Regions from separate parts of the Homo sapiens genome. Here region 1 is linked to region 2. Evidence: promoter capture Hi-C in human tissues and cell types (Jung and others, 2019). All regions are on one chromosome and are shown on one strand. Each heading gives the region's core, a stretch centred on a gene start or on the middle of the fragment in contact. The rest is flanking DNA. Distances are from core to core; before and after follow the strand shown.

Region 1 (4,376 bases), core at 153-2,652, 640 kb after region 2:
GTCTGTAGTACCAGCTATTTGGGAGGCTGAGGCAGGAGAATTGCTTAAACCTGAGAGGTCGAGGCTGCAGTGAGCTGAGATCGCGCCACTGCACTCCAGTCCAGCCTGGGTGACAGAGCAAGGCTCCGTCTCAAAAAAGAAGAAGAAGAACAAAGAGAGAATTCTGGATTCTGCAAATAAATTTTTAAAATTTAATGCGACTGCCAAGACATGAACTTATCTTGCTGTTATGTTAACAAGAGCAAGCTGTAACACTGTGGGTGATTATGTTTTTCTTTTTTTTTTTTTTGAGACGGAGTCTCGCTCTGTCGCCCAGGCTGGAGTGCAGTGGCGCGATCTCGGCTCACTGCAACCTCCGCCTCCCGGGTTCACGCCATTCTCCTGCCTCAGCCTCCCGAGTAGCTGGGACTACAGGCGCCCGCTACCACGCCCGGCTAATTTTTTGTATTTTTAGTAGAGACGGGGTTTCATTGTGTTAGCCAGGATGGTCTCGATCTCCTGACCTCGTGATCCGCCCGCCTCGGCCTCCCAAAGTGCTGGGATTACAGGTGTGAGCCACCGCGCCCGGCCTATGTTTTTCTTTAGAGACAGCCTTTGAGTTGGTGATAAGCTTATGCACTGAAGATGCCTTGACCAGCAAAACCTGTGTCATGAGAGGCAGAGTCCCACTTTTCTGTATATTATGCACATTGGAATTCTATTTTCATTTTAAGCTAAGCTGACATAGAAAGTAGCTTTAAATGTCAGAAGCAGGTTTGTGATACTCACTAGTTACATCCATTTTAACCTCTGTTATCACTACTACTTGAAATCATGGAATTATATTGGAAATAAAATTAAATATTACCAAATACGAACTTGACAAGACTATAATTTGGCCTAAAACTGATCCAGATGATCTCAAGTGTTAATTTGAAAAATAGTTACCAATTTTTCTTTTTTCTTTTCCTGTTTTTTTTTTTTTTTTTTTTTTTTTTTTTGAGATGGAGTTTTGCTCTTGTCGCCCAGGCTGGAGTGCAATGGCATGATCTTGGCTCACTGCAACCTCTGCCTCCCGGGTTCAAGCGATTCTCCTGCCTCAGTCTCCCTAGTAGCTGGGATTACAGATGCCCACCACCATGCCCAGCTAATTTTTGTATTTTTAGTAGAGACGGGGTTTCGACCTGTTGGCCACGCTGGTCTCAAACTCGTGACCTCAGGCCATCCGCCTGCCTTATAACTCCCAGAGTCCTGGGATTACAGGCGTGAGCCACAGCGCAGGACCAATAGTTAACCAATTTTTCAAACCACAGGAAATAAAAATTAGCCATGTCAACATGGATTAAACTTAAATTTTTGTTTAAAATGCTGATTTTTAGAAACTAAGCTTTTTAAAAAGTTTCAGTTCATTCTATGATCTTTAATACATCAGTTCATTCTATGATCTTTAATACATCAGTTATTCATTTTGAGACATGTTGAACAAATAAATTAGGATACAGCAGGAATCCCATCTTTTGAAGAATTCATTGGTAATGGGACAGAGAAGTCAGTAATTCAAAAACAGCAGAACTGTTAAAATTTCAAGTCTACTTAATTTGTTTACTAAAAGAGAAAATGATATCCACATTTTTTTTTTTTTTTTGAGACGGAGTCTTGCTCTGTCGCCAGGCTGTAATCCATCTCGGCACACTGTAACCTCTGCGTCCCGGGTTCAAGCAGTTCTCCTGCCTCAGCCTCTCGAGTTGCTGGGACTACAGGTGCACACCGCCATGCCTGGCTAATTTTTTTTTTTTTTCTTTTTTGTATTTTAGTAGAGACGGGGTTTCACCATGTTGCCCAGGTTGGTCTTGAACTCCTGAGCTCAGGCAGTCCGCCCGCCTCTGCCTCCCAACGTGCTAGAATTACAGGCATGAGCTACTGCGCCCGGCCAATATCCACATCTTCTAAACCTTAATGGGGAGATTTCAGGAAAGCAGGTAAAATTTTGTAGACTGGGAACACGAAAACAGGGAGAATCCTAAAGCAAGAGGCAGTTGGGGAACAAGCAGCAGCTTTAGATGCAGTAATTAGAGAACTGAGTTCTGCTTCCTATCCCTTGTATAGAAAGTTACTGTAGATATTTAGGATTTTGGAACTGGGTATATTAAGGAACGAGATATGTTAAGTGTATTAAGAAAGGAAGTATTTTTTAGTTGAATAATGCCTAGCATATACCTTATATTATATTCCTTATTTTGTATATATATGTATGTATATATACACACTCTCAAATTACATTATATTCCTTATTTTATATATATTTTTATATATTGTGTGTGTGTGTGTGTGTGTGTGTGTATATATATATATATATATATATATATATATTTTTTTTTTTTTTTTTTTTTTTTTTTTGAGACAGGGCCTCACTTTGTCACCCAGGCTAGAGTGCAGTGGCATGATCTCAGCTCACTGCAGTCTTGACCTCCCAGGTTCAGGTGACCCTCCTGCCTTAGCCCCGGAAGTTGCTTCTCTGTCCCATTACCAATTAATTCTTCAAAAGATGGGACTCTTCTGGTATCCTAATTTTTTTATTTGTTCAACATGTCTCAAAATGAATAACTGATGTATTAAAGATCACAGAATGGATTCAAACTTTTTAAAAAGCTTAGTTTCTAAAAATCAAGTTGTACAAGTTGTGGGGCTAAGGCAGGAGGATCACCTGAACCTGGGAGGTCAAGGCTGTAGTGAGCTGAGATCACGCCACTGCACTCCAGCCAGGGTGACAAAGTGAGACCTTGTCTCCAAAAAAAAAAATATATATATATATATGTGTGTGTGTGTGTATTTATATATACAAATGTATATTTAATATATATCAAATATATATATTAGTGGGCTGCCAGCACGGCCCACTAATTTTTTTGTATTTTTTGTAGAGATGAGGGTTCACCATATGGCCCAGGCTGGTCTCAAACTCCTGAGCTCAAGCAATCTACTTGCCTTGGCCTCCCAAAGTGCTGGGATTACAGGCCTGAGCCACCCCGCCTGGCACCTTACTATATTTTAATGAATGAAATGATGTAGTATGGAAAAAAAAAAAATCCCTAAATGGAGACCTGAGTTTCCATCTCATCTCTGCTACTTAATTCTGAGGTTTCAGGTAGATTATTTAACCTATCTGAGTTTTCTTATCTTAAGGATAAAGATGAATTCACCTACCCTATGGGACTATTAAGAATAAAATGAAGGTCCTGTGTAAAAAACTAAATAACTGTTCATTATTCTTGCTGCTGTTGGTTGGATTGAGTAGAAAGGTCCTATGGTTAGGACATTATAAAGTACGTCTACTTAGCTTCTAAGATGTAATATTTCTATAACTTCAGTAAGGATGTGCATTTAATAGTCAATAAATTAAACCTTTTAAAGCTGTGATTTAAAAACTATAAAATAAACAATGAAATGAGAAATGGGCAAATTCAAATAATTTTATTTTACCTTGAGCAAGAAGACTATGCCAATGCTAATGCTTTGCTTTCCCCTGCCCCTGCCCTTCCCAAAGAGAAGAGAACAGACAGCAATGGCAGAGTATATTTCGTCAACCACAACACACGAATTACACAATGGGAAGACCCCAGAAGTCAAGGGTAAGAATAGTTACTTGTGTATATTTAATCTCTTAAAGATTATACCTTATTTCTAACAACTGAAGAAGATCAAAGTTCATATTCTTTTGCCAAAGACCTAAAACGTTAATCACCTACATACTTTGGAAAGAGAAAATTATACTATTATTTTCATCTAATGGAAAGTTTGAAGATTTCTTCAAAGTGCAGGAAAAAACTTTAACTGGGCATGGTGGCTCATGCCCATTATCCCAGCACTTTGGGAGGCCAAGGAGGGAGGATTGTTTGAGGCCAGGAAGACCTGCGTAATGCAGTGAGACCCTGTCTCTACAAAAAAAATCCCCAAAATTGGGTGTGTTGGCATGTATACCTGTAGTCCCAGCTACTCGGGAGACTGAGGTGGGAGGATCACCTGAGCCCAGGAAGTCGAGACTGCAGTGAACTATGATTGTGCCAGTACACTCCAACCTGGAGGACAGGTTGAGGGCTGTTTCAAAAAAAAAGAAAACAATAGAAAAGCAAAAAAAATTATCTGGCACATGAGAATATACTTATTAACATATATATTATTTTTAATTACTAAGAACAGATTAGTGATTCTAAATCAGGGTTTCTTAACCTGAGATCACTGGTTAAGAATCTAGGGTATGTGGTTTCAAGGAGGAAGAAAATACATACTCAGTTTCATTACTCTTTACTGGAAATTTAGTATCTTCTTCCATTATGAATGTAGGCTACTACCATGTAGGATTAAGAATGCCTAGGAGTTTGCCATCAGTAGAAGTCAAA
Region 2 (4,850 bases), core at 878-3,377:
CCTCCTGAGTAGCTGGGACTACAGGCGCGTGCCACCATGCCTGGCTAATTTTTTTGTATTTTTAGTAGAGATGGAGTTTCACCGTGTTAGCCAGGATGATCTTGATCTCCTGACCTCGTGATCCGCCCGCCTCGGCCTCCCAAAGTCCTGGGATTACAGGCATGAGCCACCGCGCCCGGCCTTTTTTTTTTTTTTTTTTTTGACACGGAGTCTCTCTCTGTCGCCCAGGCTGGAGTGCAGTGGCGCAATCTCGGCTCACTGCAAGCTCTGCCTCCTGGGTTCACGCCATTCTCCTGCCTCAGCCTCCAGAGTAGCTGGGACTACAGGCACCCGCCGCCACCATGCCAGGCTAATTTTTTGTATTTTTAGTAGAGACGGGGTTTCACCTTGTTAGCCAGGATGGTCTCGATCTCCTGACCTCGTGATCCGCCCGCCTTGGCCTCCCAAAGTGCTGGGATTACAGGCGTGAGCCACCGCGCCCGGCTCCAGTAATTTTTTTTTTCTTTTTGAGACAGAATTTTGCTCTTTTCGCCCAGGCTGGAGTGCAATAGCACGATTTCAGTTTACTGCAACCTCTGCCTCTCAGGTTCAAGTGATTCTCCTGCCTCAGCCTCCCAAGTAGCTGGGATTACAGGCGTGCGCCACCACGCCCAGCTAATTTTTTTATTTTTATTTTTTATTTTTAGTAGAGATGGGGTTTCACCACGTTGGCCAGGCTGGTCTCAAACTCCTGACCTCAGGTGATCCATCCGCCTAGGCCTGCCAGAGTGCTGAGATTACAGGTGTGAGCCACTGTGCCCAGCCCATCCAGTAATTTTTATATTTTGCAGTCTAAACCTATTCCTAAGTCAGTGCAACCATCCATTACTTTCAGTAAGTGGCTTGGTGCCACTGGTTTTAGGAGATTCCTTGCTGAAGCCTTTATACAGGCTCAATGCTTTCTGGGGGGTAACAGGTTGCTGTCAGTTGGAACACATTTTTTGTTCGTGTCTTCCACGTATAAGCTTAATGCTTTTTCTTTTCTTTTGTAAAAAAATTTATTTTCTTTTTTTCCCCTGTAAGTAAGGATACAACTTAATGCCTTTTCTATCTTAACTAAGCACTTATCACACACTGTGGCTGTAACTTTTGCAGTTTGAGGTACGACAGCAAAACCAGCATGAATTTCTTTTTCCTCTTTCACAATTCTAGGGCTAGAAGATTCGTTCTTACTGCAGACCTCAGTAAGCTCAGCATACGATTTTTTTTCTTAAGCTCAGAACTTCCACATTTACATTTAAAGGAAGCACTTTACAGCTTCATTTTGGCATATCCAAACTGCCAGCATTACTACTCTTGCACTTTGGGGCCATTATATAGTAAAATGAGGGTTACTCGAACCAAAGCACTGCAACACCGTGGCAGTCCATCTGATAACTCCTAAGCTGGTAAGTAACTAACAGATGGTAGAGGTATGTTGGACAAAGGGATGATTCACATTGCAGGTAGGATGGAACAGGATAGCACGAGATTTCATTAGGCCAATGGAAATTAAAAACTTATGAACTGTTTATTTCTGGAATTTTCTATTTAATACTGTCAGACCTTAGCTGGCCAAGTGAAACTACTCAAAGTAAAATCTCAGATAAGGGGGACACTACCGTACTTAACTGGAGAAGATACTGCTTTGCTTCTGTGACCACAGAATTGACAGGTTGAAATTGGAAACAACTGTTGCCTTCACGCTTTTAAGACAACTTCACATGAATATACATGTGAAGTTCAAGCATGGCAGTATCCCATACTAGCAATAAATTTTTGAGCAGTGTTGCACACTTACTGTCATTTCTCTTACTGTTCTGCCACTCCTACAGAGCGCAGGCCAAGGAGACTACATTTCCCAGAATGCCACACGCCCTTTGACCCCAGCTACAGCAAAAGACGCGCCGGGGAGCGCCTGAAGCCGGAAGACTATAGCTTCCCGGCATGCAGCACGCTTCCCCCTATTAGATTTGAGGCGCGGCCGGCGCGTTGCCCACTGGGAGTTGTAGTCAGTGGCGCGTTGCCCTGACGCCTGCCGGGCCGGGCGTGGGGGCCTGTGGGAGGTGGCGCGGCCGGGCCCAGCTGCGGGGCGGAGGCGGAGGCGGAGGAGAGGCCTGCGGCGGCAGGGAGCGGCGGGACTGGGAGCGGGCGCCGGAGCCGACCCGAGCCGAGCCGAGCCGAGCCGAGCCGGAGCGGGCGGCGAAGGCCGGCGCGGCGAGCAGCAACCATGTCGGTGTTCGGGAAGCTGTTCGGGGCTGGAGGGGGTAAGGCCGGCAAGGGCGGCCCGACCCCCCAGGAGGCCATCCAGCGGCTGCGGGACACGGAAGAGATGTTAAGCAAGAAACAGGAGTTCCTGGAGAAGAAAATCGAGCAGGAGCTGACGGCCGCCAAGAAGCACGGCACCAAAAACAAGCGCGGTGAGGCTGCCCGGCCCCTTCAGACTTGCCACGGGCTCCCCCCAGGCTCCCCGGGCCCGGACTTCACCTTCATCAGACTCGCCTCGGGGTCTGGTCTGACCCTGGAACTCTCCGGGTCAGACTTCTTGCCGGGTCTGGGACCCCCTCCCCGACTCCCTTCAATGTCTCCCCGATCCCTGGACTTTTCCATCGTCAGACTTATTCTGCCCTCTCCCCTCAGCCTCTCTCCACCCCGCCAGGTCCCTTCAGACCCCAATCTCACAGCACTTTCCTCCGCCCTCACTCTGTCCCTTTCTCTTCCGCCTTTTCCTTCTCGCCTCACCCACCTGCCTAGCTACTGCCCCTGCCTCCTCCTCGGCTCATTTCTGCCCCCATCCTAGCATTTCTGTGCTTCCTGGTCCTACCTGTGCCCTCTCCCGACTCCTCGGTGGAATCTGTGAGCTGCCCCTTGGCCTCTCCCCTGTCCTCTTGTCTCAGAATTCTCGTTGAAAAGCCTCCTTGCTGGAGAGAAAAGGGGACTGGGGGAGATGAGACCCCCGATTCCTGCTCTATTCACTTGCTGAGTGAACTTGAGCAAGTTGCTTTCCCTTTGAGGCCTCAGTTTCCCCATCCGTCAGCCAGAGTTCGGCCTCTGTTGAGGCCTAAGGTGTTTTCCAGCGTTGTGATTCACTTTTTGTTGCCTCGTAGCTTGACCTTACCAAAGTTTCCCGTGGCGCAAGCCTTCACCCCATGACTCACCGCTTCCCCATCCGTCTGAACCAGAAATAGAGACTCCCGACTGCTCCCCAGTCCCCACTACTAGGATTCAGGGCCCCAGTATTGAATCTTGAGGCACTGCTTACTTTACTTCCTGTTGTCGTATGGCTTTCTGGGCATTCCAAGTGCTTTGTGTTTTTCTTAAGTGAGATGAATGTGAAAATGCTTTAAAACTGTAAAGCAGTTTAGAAATGTTTGCTTTTTCTTGTTATGGCCATGTGAGAGTGAATCACAGAACGACATCCCTTCCCCTTGAGAGGGGTTTAGGATTGAGGTAATTCACTCAGAAGTCTGCTAGTGACTAGCAGTGCGACCTTGAGCTCATTTACCTTTCTGAAAGGAAAATCATGGATTTACAGTGCTCAGCACATAGTAGGGGCTAAATCGATGTTTTCTCCATTCTAATAGGAGAACAAAATAGCCTATCTGGAGGATGCTTCTCTGCTGATAGTCAACAGATATTCTGGAAATTCTTTTTAGTGCCTGCTGCATGCGCTGTATTCATAGGGGTGAACAAAACACGGCCTCAACCCTAATGGGAGAGAAGACAGAAACAGGAAAATAAATGAAGAAAATATTGTCCGGGGGTGATAAGTACTAAACACACAAAAAGATGGTCTGATAGGGAGTGGTGGAGTGGGAGGGATGCCACTTTGGATAGAATGGTCAGGGAAGGCGTCTTTGAAAAGGTAAAGTTTGAACTGAGTCTGGAGAAGGAACCAGCTCTGTAAAAAAAAAAAAAAAAGGGGGAGGAGCCTTCTGGGCGTGGAAAGCAGCATGGGAAAAGGCTCGGAGGTTAGCAGGTTGTAAGAAACCGAAGAGAGAGACCCTTGTGTCCAGAATGTAGTGCTTGGAGGGAGAGTGGTATGGAATAAAGGGGGCGGGGCTTGGACTTTGAACCTGTTGGTGAAGAGTTTGAATTTTATTCCAAGTGGATGGAAAGTTTTTGGAGAGTATTTTGTTGGAACGTGTCCTTATTGACAGAGTTTTTAAAACATCATCTGGCTGCTCTTTGGAGAGTGGGTGGGGGATGCGGGTGGGAGCAGGGAGAACAGTGAGGAGGCAGCTGCAGTGGTCCATTTGTGGCTTGGACTCCAGCTTAGTTGTGGAGATGGGAACAGGGTTATATTTTGCTGTCTCTAGCTTTTTCCTCTGATGACTCTCCCTCAGTCCAGATCCTCTGTTTATGGTCATCAGAATCAGTGTTTTTAGCTTTCTGCATTTTGGAATGCAGGAGGAGGGTGTCAGTTTACCATTTTCCTCTGATCTTTTGGTCTGGAGCTAGCTTAGTTTCTGGAGTTTGTTTTTTTGTTTGTTTGTTTGTTTGTTTGTTTTTGAAACGGAGTCTCGCTCTGTTGCCCAGGCTGGAGTGCAGTGGTGCGATCTCAGCTCACTGCAACCTCTGCCTTCTGGGTTCAAATGATTCTCCTGCGTCAGCCTCCTGAGTAGCTGGGATTACAGGTGCACGCCACCATGCCTGGCTAATTTTTGTATTTTTAGTAGAGATGGGGTTTCACCATGTTGGTCAGGCTGGTCTTGAACACCTGACCTCATGATCTGCCTGCCTCGGCCTCCCAAAGTGCTGGGATTATGGGCATGAGCCATCGCACCCAGCCGTTTCTGCAGTTTTGGCGATCGAATTGACTTTCAAGGGGC

The links. The method cuts DNA at HindIII sites, captures the fragments that hold promoters and counts their contacts. A contact is called where the count stands out against the background at its distance.
Region 1: a contact is called between a fragment that was not itself captured here and the fragment with the promoter of CHMP4B in region 2, in 2 of the 25 tissues and cell types used here (adrenal gland and dorsolateral prefrontal cortex).

The regions. Positions count from the first base shown.
Region 1 is chr20:34,453,867-34,458,242 of GRCh38, forward strand. It overlaps ITCH (itchy E3 ubiquitin protein ligase), which reads left to right. Exons shown (of 25, transcript NM_031483.7): 13 at 3,524-3,608. Among named protein-coding and RNA genes, the nearest start is that of MIR644A, 10 kb to the right of the region's middle. The HindIII fragment of the contact is 4,557 bases long and covers 1-3,681 here.
Region 2 is chr20:33,809,221-33,814,070 of GRCh38, forward strand. It overlaps CHMP4B (charged multivesicular body protein 4B), which reads left to right and starts at 2,128. Exons shown (of 5, transcript NM_176812.5): 1 at 2,128-2,438. The coding sequence starts at 2,249. ZNF341-AS1 (ZNF341 antisense RNA 1) reads right to left here and starts at 1,879. Exons shown (of 4, transcript NR_110623.1): 1 at 1,820-1,879. RefSeq lists enhancers at 1,803-2,097, 1,837-1,916, 2,683-3,523, 3,352-3,421 and a silencer at 1,977-2,256. The HindIII fragment of the contact is 9,541 bases long and covers 1-4,850 here.